2 separate regions of the Homo sapiens genome follow, and region 2 is linked to region 1. Evidence: promoter capture Hi-C in human tissues and cell types (Jung and others, 2019). All regions are on one chromosome and are shown on one strand. Each heading gives the region's core, a stretch centred on a gene start or on the middle of the fragment in contact. The rest is flanking DNA. Distances are from core to core; before and after follow the strand shown.

Region 1 (4,551 bases), core at 255-2,754:
AGGTCCCACAGGCACGACTCTCCTTTCCAGGCTGCCTTGCCGGCGGGGGGAGCCCGAAACAGCCCTTTGCAGCTCTGCACCAGGAGCAGGTTTTGCGGAACCCCCATGTAAGGCTTCCCCGGGGTGGGGTCCTCCCAGCCGTGGGCCTCAGGGTGACCGATCACAGGGAGAGTGGCTCCCTGCCCTGGGCACCCCCTGCGGTGGCCCCGACGACAGCTGAGGAGTGACCACAAGGTCTCTGCCCACAGTGCTCGGGGTGCGGTGTCTGGGCTGCGAAGTGGATCCCCCTTTCTTGGGCACTGCAGCAGCTTGGGGGGCTTTTTGGACGTGGATGTGCCTGGTCCTGGTTTTCCGAGGGCCTTTACAGTGGATGAGGAGGTGAACACAGGAGTCCTGAGAGCAAGCACCACCTCGGGCTTTGTTGTAGAAACAATGGCCCGGACCCCAGGCTGGAGCCGTGGCTTGGCCTCCTGGGTGTGTCTTGGCATCTGAAATGCAGGCTACCCACACCGGCTCACCTCCAGGGGTACAGGCAGGTCCCACAGGGAGAGCTTGGCGCTGAGCTGAGGCTGTCTGGGCTCCTCGCCTCCCAACCAGTCTGCAGTTACAGGGGCCAGTGGGGGGCGGGTGAGAAGGACGGGTTCCCTCAGGGGAGCCGGCCGGAGCCCGAGCCTTCCCCCTTCTCCAGGACGCAGGCCTGAGCAGCGGGGAGCCGCCCGAGAAGGAGCGGCGGCGCCTCAAAGAGAGTTTTGAGAACTACCGCAGGTAGGCGGGCGGCCCCCAGGCTTCTCCAAAACGGGCTGGGGAGCGGCAGCCGGGTCGCGCCTGAGACACCTGTCTTCACAGGAAGCGCGCCCTCAGGAAGATGCAGAAAGGATGGCGGCAGGGGGAGGAGGACCGGGAGAACACCACGGGCAGCGACAACACCGACACTGAGGGCTCCTAGCCGCAGCAGCGCAGGCCCCGACCAGGGCACACCCACCGGCCCGGCCTCCTGCCACCCGGGGGTGCCGACGCCCTGGGGCGCAGACTTCCCCGAGCCGTCGCTGACTTGGCCTGGAACGAGGAATCTGGTGCCCTGAAAGGCCCAGCCGGACTGCCGGGCATTGGGGCCGTTTGTTAAGCGGCACTCATTTTGCGGAGGCCATGCGGGTGCTCACCACCCCCATGCACACGCCATCTGTGTAACTTCAGGATCTGTTCTGTTTCACCATGTAACACACAATACATGCATGCATTGTATTAGTGTTAGAAAACACAGCTGCGTAAATAAACAGCACGGGTGACCCGCATTCCCGCTCGGACACTCGCGCGCAGCCCCGCGGCCGTCCCTCCTCGCTGCGGCCCGCGGTGTCCTCGGGGTGCGAGCTGCACGTGGACGCAGGGCCCCCTCAGGCCGCCAGGGGGCGGCATAGCGCAGCGCGCCCCCGACCCGGAAGACGGAAGCCCAAGAACGCCGCTTCCGCCCGGCGCCCACTTCCAAGATGGCGGCGGGGCGGGGCCGGGGCAGGGCGGACGGAGCCGGCGAGCGGGATGCTGCGGACTGCGCTGCGCGGCGCGCCGAGGTTGCTGAGTCGCGTGCAGCCCCGGGCGCCCTGCCTGAGGCGGCTGTGGGGCCGCGGGGCCCGTCCAGAGGTCGCGGGGAGGCGGCGGGCCTGGGCCTGGGGCTGGCGGCGCTCAAGCTCCGAGCAGGGGCCGGGGCCCGCGGCGGCTCTGGGGCGCGTGGAGGCGGCGCACTACCAGCTCGTCTACACCTGCAAGGTAGGCGCGCGGCGGGACGGAACCGGGGACAGACCCGTATCTGACGCTACACGGCCTGCGGGGAGAAGCGGCCCGCCGGGGATCCGGGAGGCGGCGTGGTCAAGTCACAGGAAGGAGTGGAGCCACCCCTTGGGGCTTCTGGGAGGGAGCGGAGGCGGACCATGAGGAGGGGTGGAGCCGTCCCTGGGGCGGGGCCTTCCCGGGAGAGGGCGAGGTTGGGGGTGGGTGGAGCTATCCCTCGGGGGCGGGGCCTTCTCTGGAGAGGGTGAGGTGGCTGGAGCTACCCCTAGAGGGGCGGGTCTTCCCGGGAGGGGCGTGGCGGCCCTCACAGCCTCACCAGCTACCCTGTCCCAGCCAGGTCTGCGGGACTAGGTCCTCCAAGCGCATCTCCAAGCTGGCCTATCACCAAGGCGTGGTCATTGTGACCTGCCCCGGCTGCCAGAACCACCATATCATCGCTGACAACCTGGGCTGGTTCTCGGACCTGAATGGGAAGAGGTGAGGCCTGTACCCCAGGGCTGGGCCAGAAGGCCACCCAGAAGTACCCTGGCCTCCCTGGGGGAACCTTGCCCTAGTGTTGAGGTTTATAGATCTCACCTGGGAAATCCAGCCACCTTATCAATACAAGACACACAGTTAAATGAGAATTTCCTATAAAGCCCAGATAGCTTTTGAGTTTAAGTATGCCCCAAGTAGGGGGTGCGTTTTTATTTGTTAAATTTTGCCAGCCCTGTGGCCCTGCCTCCCTGCCTCTGCCTGCCCTCTGCCATCACTGGCAGCCTTGTCCCTCTCTAGCGTGGAACTTTTTTGCCCTCTGCCATCTTGGGGTGGCTGGCCCACAGCAAGGCTTGGGGTGTGGACCAGGAGGTGTGGCCTGGGCCCTGGCTGCTGGGAGAGCAGTGGAGGTGGTGCCGGGAGCCTGGTCCGGGCCTTGCCTGGCCGGGAGGTCCTGGGCAGGACAGTAACAGCGACAGCAGGTCTGAGACCAGCATGCCAGGTGCTTGGTGGTACCTGGCCCTTGGAGCTGGGACTGTCCTCCCATCAGACCCGGGGCTGCAGATTCTTCCCTCTGGCACATAGGGGGCAGGAGCAGGAGACTGGGTTCCTGAGGCGGCGCATACCGGCAGAGACACAGGGCTGGTGAGGGCACACAGGCCAGCGTCTGAAGTGCCCGTGTGGCCTGATGCCACAGGAGTGCTGGGCCTGGTGCTTGCAGCTCTGGCCTGGCCATGGGGCGCCCTGAGGGGACTGAAGTGCAGGGCGGCTGGGGGGCCCTGAAGAGCCATGTTGCCTCCCTGCCCCCCAGAAATATCGAAGAGATCCTGACGGCCAGAGGCGAGCAGGTGCACCGTGTGGCGGGCGAGGGGGCCCTGGAACTGGTTCTGGAGGCTGCAGGGGCCCCCACATCCACTGCAGCTCCGGAAGCGGGTGAGGATGAGGGTCCCCCCAGCCCTGGCAAGACGGAGCCGAGCTGACTCCTGCGCTCCCCGGCACTGTGGGACTTCGGCCTTCCAGAAGGAGGTTTTGGCCCTGGGCCTCTCTGGACGTGGCCTGTTTTCTATCAATAAACAGACATTACTTCCAGATGCTGGGGCCTGTGGCCCTCGTGGCCTTTCTTTTTCTGGAGTTAGAACGATTGCTCTGAATCCCTGGTGCTGCTGGGTGGGACATAGGAGCCGCAGGACCTCTCGCCTCACCACAGTTCCTTCTACACAGAGTCACCCAGCTCTTGCCCACAGAGGCCACAGTCGCGTGGAAAGGGGGCTGGATGTGGCGTCAGAGCCCTTCCTGGCTGTCGCTGCGTGACTTTGAGCAGGTCACCACCCCTGTGAGCCTCAGCCTTCCTCTGCAAGGCCCTTGCCGCCCCCCTGGCCAGCTCTGGCGGCCTCCCTTCCGTGAGCCAGTGCAGACCTGAGCCCTGGTCCTCGGCCGCCGGCCGTCGGCGAAACAGTGAGCAAACCAGGCTGCCTGCTGGCCCAGGCAGGACGAGCAGCTATGGCGTGGCCGTGTGTTAGGAGCTCCAGACCCCTCCCGGGGGAGCCACCTGGGCCTCCTTCCCTCGGTGGACAGCGCTCTGGACGTCCCCAGGGCCCTCCGAGGTGTGTGGGGTTTGTCTCCCAGCCTTGTCTGTGCGCAGGATGTTCCCGTGTTTATGAAAGCGAGCAAACACAGCAGCCTGTTTATTTGCAGAAGCGTTCTGGGCAGCGTAACCTTCAGCATTCATCACCCGCCACACTCCGGCAGGGAAGAGAATGGGGCGAGGTGGGAGGTGGAGGCAGGACTGAGCACGACAGGGACCCAGTGCGGCCCCTCCCAGCGGGACACGGCCAGGACTGCCAGCTCACATCCGGCCCGTGGGAGGCCGGGGCGCGGCGGCATCGTTCCCAGTGTGCTTGTGGCGTGGGCTTTGCCTCGATTACCCCCTGTCCTTCTTTCAGCCAACAACCCTCTATTATTCCCACCCAGAGCCTTCTGTGCCATTTGTGGAAACTGTCCTCTTCTCGGCTGAGCCACCGGCACCCAGGCCTGCTCCTCCATGGAGGCACTGGCTGGGGGTCTCTTGGGGGCTTGGAAGTGCAGTGGGGCTGGGCTTGGCTTGGCTGCCTCACTGCCTCCAGAGGGCCTGGACCAGCATGTGGGGAGGTCCAGGGAGCCGTCTGGACCTGGAAGTGCAGAATTAGAGCAAGGAGAGCCGCTTGGGCCAACCCCTCCTCTTACGGATGGGGAGATGGCGGCTGGTAGTTGGGATGTGGACGTTACCATGTCTTTTCTGTCTGATGCCAGCACCTC
Region 2 (4,360 bases), core at 512-3,011, 580 kb before region 1:
CAACAATGCCTTCCAGGTGCGTGCGGGGCTAGGGGCGGGGCTGCCCTCCTGGGGCCTGGCGCCCGGCGCCCACCTGGCACGTGCCCCCGCCCCCAGGATGTGGAGTCAGAGAACGTCAACGTGGTGAAGCGGCTGTTCAAGATCCAGAACCTCAATGCCAGCACCGTCCGCACGGTGATGGTGGCCGACTGCAGCCGCTTCGACAGCCCTGACCTGCTGCTGGAAGCCGGTGACCCGGCCACGTCCCCCTGCCGCATCTTTGACCTGGGCAGCGACAACGAGGAGGTGGTGGCTGGCCCGGCCCCCGCCCACGCCAAGGAGGGCTTGCGGCACTTTCTGGACCGCGTGCTGGAGGGGCGGGCGCAGCCACAGCTGTCGGAGCGCATGCTAGAGACCAAGGTGGCCGAGCTGCTGGCCCAGGGCCACACCAAGCCACCCGAGCGCAGTGCCACAGGCGCCAAGAGCAAGTACCTCATCTTCACCACTGGCTGCCTCACCTACTCCCCACACCAGATCGGTACACCCCTGCCGCCATGCTGCCCGCCTCGGTCCTAGGAGCTTGGGGGAGGCCGGGCAGGGGTCCTGAGGGGCAGACAGCAAGCAAGTCCACAGGCAAAGCTGGGATCGTTCACTCGCCCCTGGGGTCACAAGCCCAGACCTGGGGCCTGTGGGATGAGCAGTGAAAACAAACGCAGGCAGGGCCGCTGGCCAGCAAGCAACCGACGGGCCTGATTCAGGTCTGGGGCCCCCGGAGCAGGCAGTGCCCACGGACCTCTGTGGTGCTCACAGCCCCAGAGACACCACTGAGGTAGGAAGCTGCCCTGGAGTGATGTCCTTGGGGCATTGGACAGGGACCCTCACCGTAGCCCTCCCTGCAGGCATCAAGCAGATCCTGCCACACCAGATGACCACGGCAGGGCCCGTGCTGGGTGAGGGCCGGGGCTCCGATGCCTTCTTCGACGCGCTGGACCACGTCATAGACATACACGGACACATCATCGGCATGGGCCTGTCGCCCGACAACAGGTGGGCCTCTTGCCAGTGTCCCAGGCGGGGTGCCCGCAGGCGGCCCACACCTAGCACAGTGCCCCTCGCCCAGGTACCTGTACGTGAACAGCCGCGCCTGGCCCAACGGTGCGGTGGTGGCCGACCCCATGCAGCCGCCACCAATCGCGGAGGAGATTGACCTGCTGGTGTTCGACCTCAAGACCATGCGGGAGGTGAGGCGGGCTCTGCGTGCGCACCGCGCCTACACGCCCAACGACGAGTGCTTCTTCATCTTCCTGGACGTCAGCAGGGACTTCGTGGCCAGGTGCAGGGCGCGGCGTGGTGCAGGGCGGGTGTGGGCAGCAGCGGGCGGGCGGCCGGCTCACCCAGGCGCTGTTCTGCAGCGGGGCGGAGGACCGGCACGGCTACATCTGGGACCGCCACTACAACATCTGTCTGGCCAGGCTGCGGCACGAGGATGTGGTCAACTCAGTGGTCTTCAGTCCCCAGGAGCAGGAGCTGCTGCTCACGGCCAGCGACGACGCCACCATCAAAGCCTGGCGCTCCCCACGCACCATGCGCGTCCTCCAGGCACCTCGCCCACGGCCTCGCACCTTCTTCTCCTGGCTTGCCAGCCAGAGGCGCTGAGGTGTGCTGGGTGCACTGGAGCCACCGGGACCCCTTGAGGACATCGCCAGGCTCTGTGGCTTTTTCCCGAGCGGGAGAGGTGGAGATGCTTATAGCAGTTACGCCTTAGGAAGGGGACAACCAGGCCCCGCCACACGCTCACACACAAACCTGCTCACGCAGCTGTGATGCTTGGCACGGGGTGGCCAGTGCAGATGGAGCCCAAGGCCCCCTCGGCCTCCTGGGCAACTTGGGGTACACAGGATACTGGGGGTGCCGCTCCTCACTCAACCCCAGGCTAGGGGTACACCTGACCCAGCTGGCCTCGGCCCGGGGCACCTTCGGCTGGTCCTGTGGGGCCCTGGACGGTGGCCCAGTGGTGGCAGGGGCTGCTCCTGGCTGTGGTTGTGCGCCCGGGGCTTGGGAGCGGCCGGTCACGCTGCTGTGGGCCCGAGTGTGTTGCATGTCCACGCACCACCCGTTCAGGGCCCTGAATAAACAGTTGGCAACAGCACATTGTTGTCCAGTCTCTGTCTGCAGGGAGGGAGACTGTGGGCACTGCTGGCACAGTGGAGTGGACCTCATGGTCACTGCTGACGGGTGACGCTGTTATTGCTGGCACAGTGGTCCTACTGGAGTGAATGTTGCAGTCACTGCTGACAGGTGACATGTGCGTCTGAGGTCATGTGCTGGTGCCAGACTTTGTCACACTGCCCTGTCCTCCATGACCTCCAGGGAGATGCCTGGCACATGTGCCGGGGCTGGCAGCATGCAGGGCCTGCCGTCTGGGTCCAGGGTCAGTAGGCCACGTCACTCCCAGTGCCAGGGCAGCCCCCCCAGTCAGTCCCGTCCTTGAGGGAGTTCCTCAGCTGCTGGGTCCAGAGTCGGCAGGCTGCGTCGCTCCCAGTGCCAGGGCAGCCCCCACAGTCAGTCCCATCCTTAAGGGAGTTCCTCGGCTGCTGGGTCCAGAGTTGGCAGGCTGCGTCACTCCCAGTGCCAGGGCGGCCCCCCACAGTCCCGTCCTTGAGGGAGTCCCTCGGCTGCTGGGTCCAGAGTCGGCAGGCCGTGTCGCTCCCAGTGCCAGGGCGGTCTCCACAGTCAGTTCAGGCCGGCGAGGATGGGACCAGGGGCCCAGAAGTGGGAGCAGAGGTGGAGCTCCAGCTGGACCCCACAGGCTTTGTTGGAACTGCACCGGGAGCTCGGGGGCCCGGGGCGATGGTGGTGACAAGGAAGATGGCAGGAGTAGAGCCTGGCACTCGGGTCAGCTGCCCATTATAGGAAGCACACAGAGCTTGTGGCTCCAAACATGGCAGCAAGCAACCCCGTACAGAGAAAGGACGCAGAGGAGACGAGTGAGTGTCGAGGTGATGGTTCCCCTGAGCCACGTGGGCCGCAGGTAGAGACCCTGGGGCTGAGCTCGAGCACCGACGGGATCAGGGACAGCACCACCGAGAGAGGCTGCGCCACCCAGAGGGACGGAGCCTCTGCCCTGCCAACTCCTGGTCTCCAGCTGGGAAGCCCTGGGGACCACTGCAGTTCATAATAAAACCCCCAACGTGGGCGAGAACAAGGAAAGGAAGGAAGACACACCAAAGACCCCCAGACAAGATAAGCTGCCCTGAGACTAACACCCTCAGAAGGGAGCTGACAGATTCTGTAAATGCAAGCACACCACGGGCAGGCTCCAAAGAATTGAGCAATTTCCTGAAAAGGACTTACCTACGTTCACATTCAAGGAGACTAACAAAAACATTCCTATGCACCATAAAACAAAAGTGGGGACAGAAATCAAGAGGACTTGGACATTTCAAAATAAAAAGGGAGCCAATTAGACACTGGAAAATGACAGGGCGAGTGACTGCATCAAAAGCTTGATACGTAGGCCGGGCGCGGTGGCTCACGCCTGTAATCCCAGTACTTTGGGAGGCCGAGGTGGGCAGATCACGAGGTCAGATCGAGGCCATCCTGGCTAACAAGGTGAAACCCTGTCTCTACTAAAAATACAAAAAATTAGCCGGGCGCGGTGGCGGACGCCTGTAGTCTCAGCTACTCGAGAGACTGAGGTAGGAGAATGGCGTGAACCTGGGAGGCGGAGCTTGCAGTGAGCCGAGATTGCACCACTGCACTCCAGCCTGGGCGACAGAACAAGACTCTGTCTCAAAAAAGGAAAAGAAAAAAAAAAAAATCTTGATATGTGGAAAGTGCTGGACCAGACAGACTCGACGAGAGGACCAGGCAGCAGAAGATGGCACAGAGGAGACGAAAGAAACACAGCCCTGGGAGGGGAATGGAGCGGCATGCATGCCCCCACCCCATCTACGGGGCAGGGGTGGAGACCCAGTGTTTAAAGAGAAAGTGACTGAATTAGCAAAAGAACAGAAGTCCTCAGAAAACATATGCTGAGGTCAGGCCGGGCGTGGTGGTTCATGCCTGTAATCCTAGCACTTTGGGAGGCCGAGGCGGATCACTTGAGGTCAGGAGATCAAGACCAGCCTGGCCAACACGGTGAAACCCCTTTTGTACTTAAAAAAAAAAAAAAAAAAAATTAGCCGAGCGTGGTGGCACACACCTCTAATCCCAGCTACTCAGGGGACTGAGGCAGGAGAATTCATTGAACCCGGGAATGAGCTGAGATTGCGCCACTGCACTCCAGCCTGGGCGACAGAGTGAACTCTGTGAAACTGCAGCTATGAAACTTGTGCACGGGGCCTGGAGCAGCTGCCAGAGAGCTGGGTCAGGGAGCAGC

Evidence for each region. Contacts are between HindIII fragments. The study calls those that stand out against the background at their distance.
Region 2: a fragment that was not itself captured here is called in contact with the fragment with the promoter of DNLZ in region 1 in 1 of the 25 tissues and cell types used here (spleen).

What each region holds. Positions count from the first base shown.
Region 1 is chr9:136,360,697-136,365,247 of GRCh38, reverse strand. DNLZ (DNL-type zinc finger) reads left to right here and starts at 1,504. Exons shown (of 3, transcript NM_001080849.3): 1 at 1,504-1,761; 2 at 2,120-2,259; 3 at 3,068-4,551. The coding sequence starts at 1,534. The coding sequence ends at 3,236. It overlaps CARD9 (caspase recruitment domain family member 9), which reads left to right. Exons shown (of 13, transcript NM_052813.5): 11 at 31-107; 12 at 689-765; 13 at 847-1,292. The coding sequence ends at 946. It overlaps LOC124902309 (a long non-coding RNA gene), which reads right to left and starts at 1,879. Exons shown (of 2, transcript XR_007061863.1): 1 at 1,796-1,879. RefSeq lists enhancers at 1-36, 37-927 and silencers at 1,139-1,238, 1,269-1,768, 1,869-2,148. The HindIII fragment of the contact is 10,875 bases long and covers 1-4,551 here.
Region 2 is chr9:136,938,203-136,942,562 of GRCh38, reverse strand. It overlaps FBXW5 (F-box and WD repeat domain containing 5), which reads left to right. Exons shown (of 9, transcript NM_018998.4): 5 at 1-16; 6 at 97-517; 7 at 879-1,026; 8 at 1,100-1,312; 9 at 1,392-2,128. The coding sequence ends at 1,635. Among named protein-coding and RNA genes, the nearest start is that of FBXW5, 4.4 kb to the left of the region's middle. RefSeq lists an enhancer at 3,893-4,360. The HindIII fragment of the contact is 5,626 bases long and covers 1-4,360 here.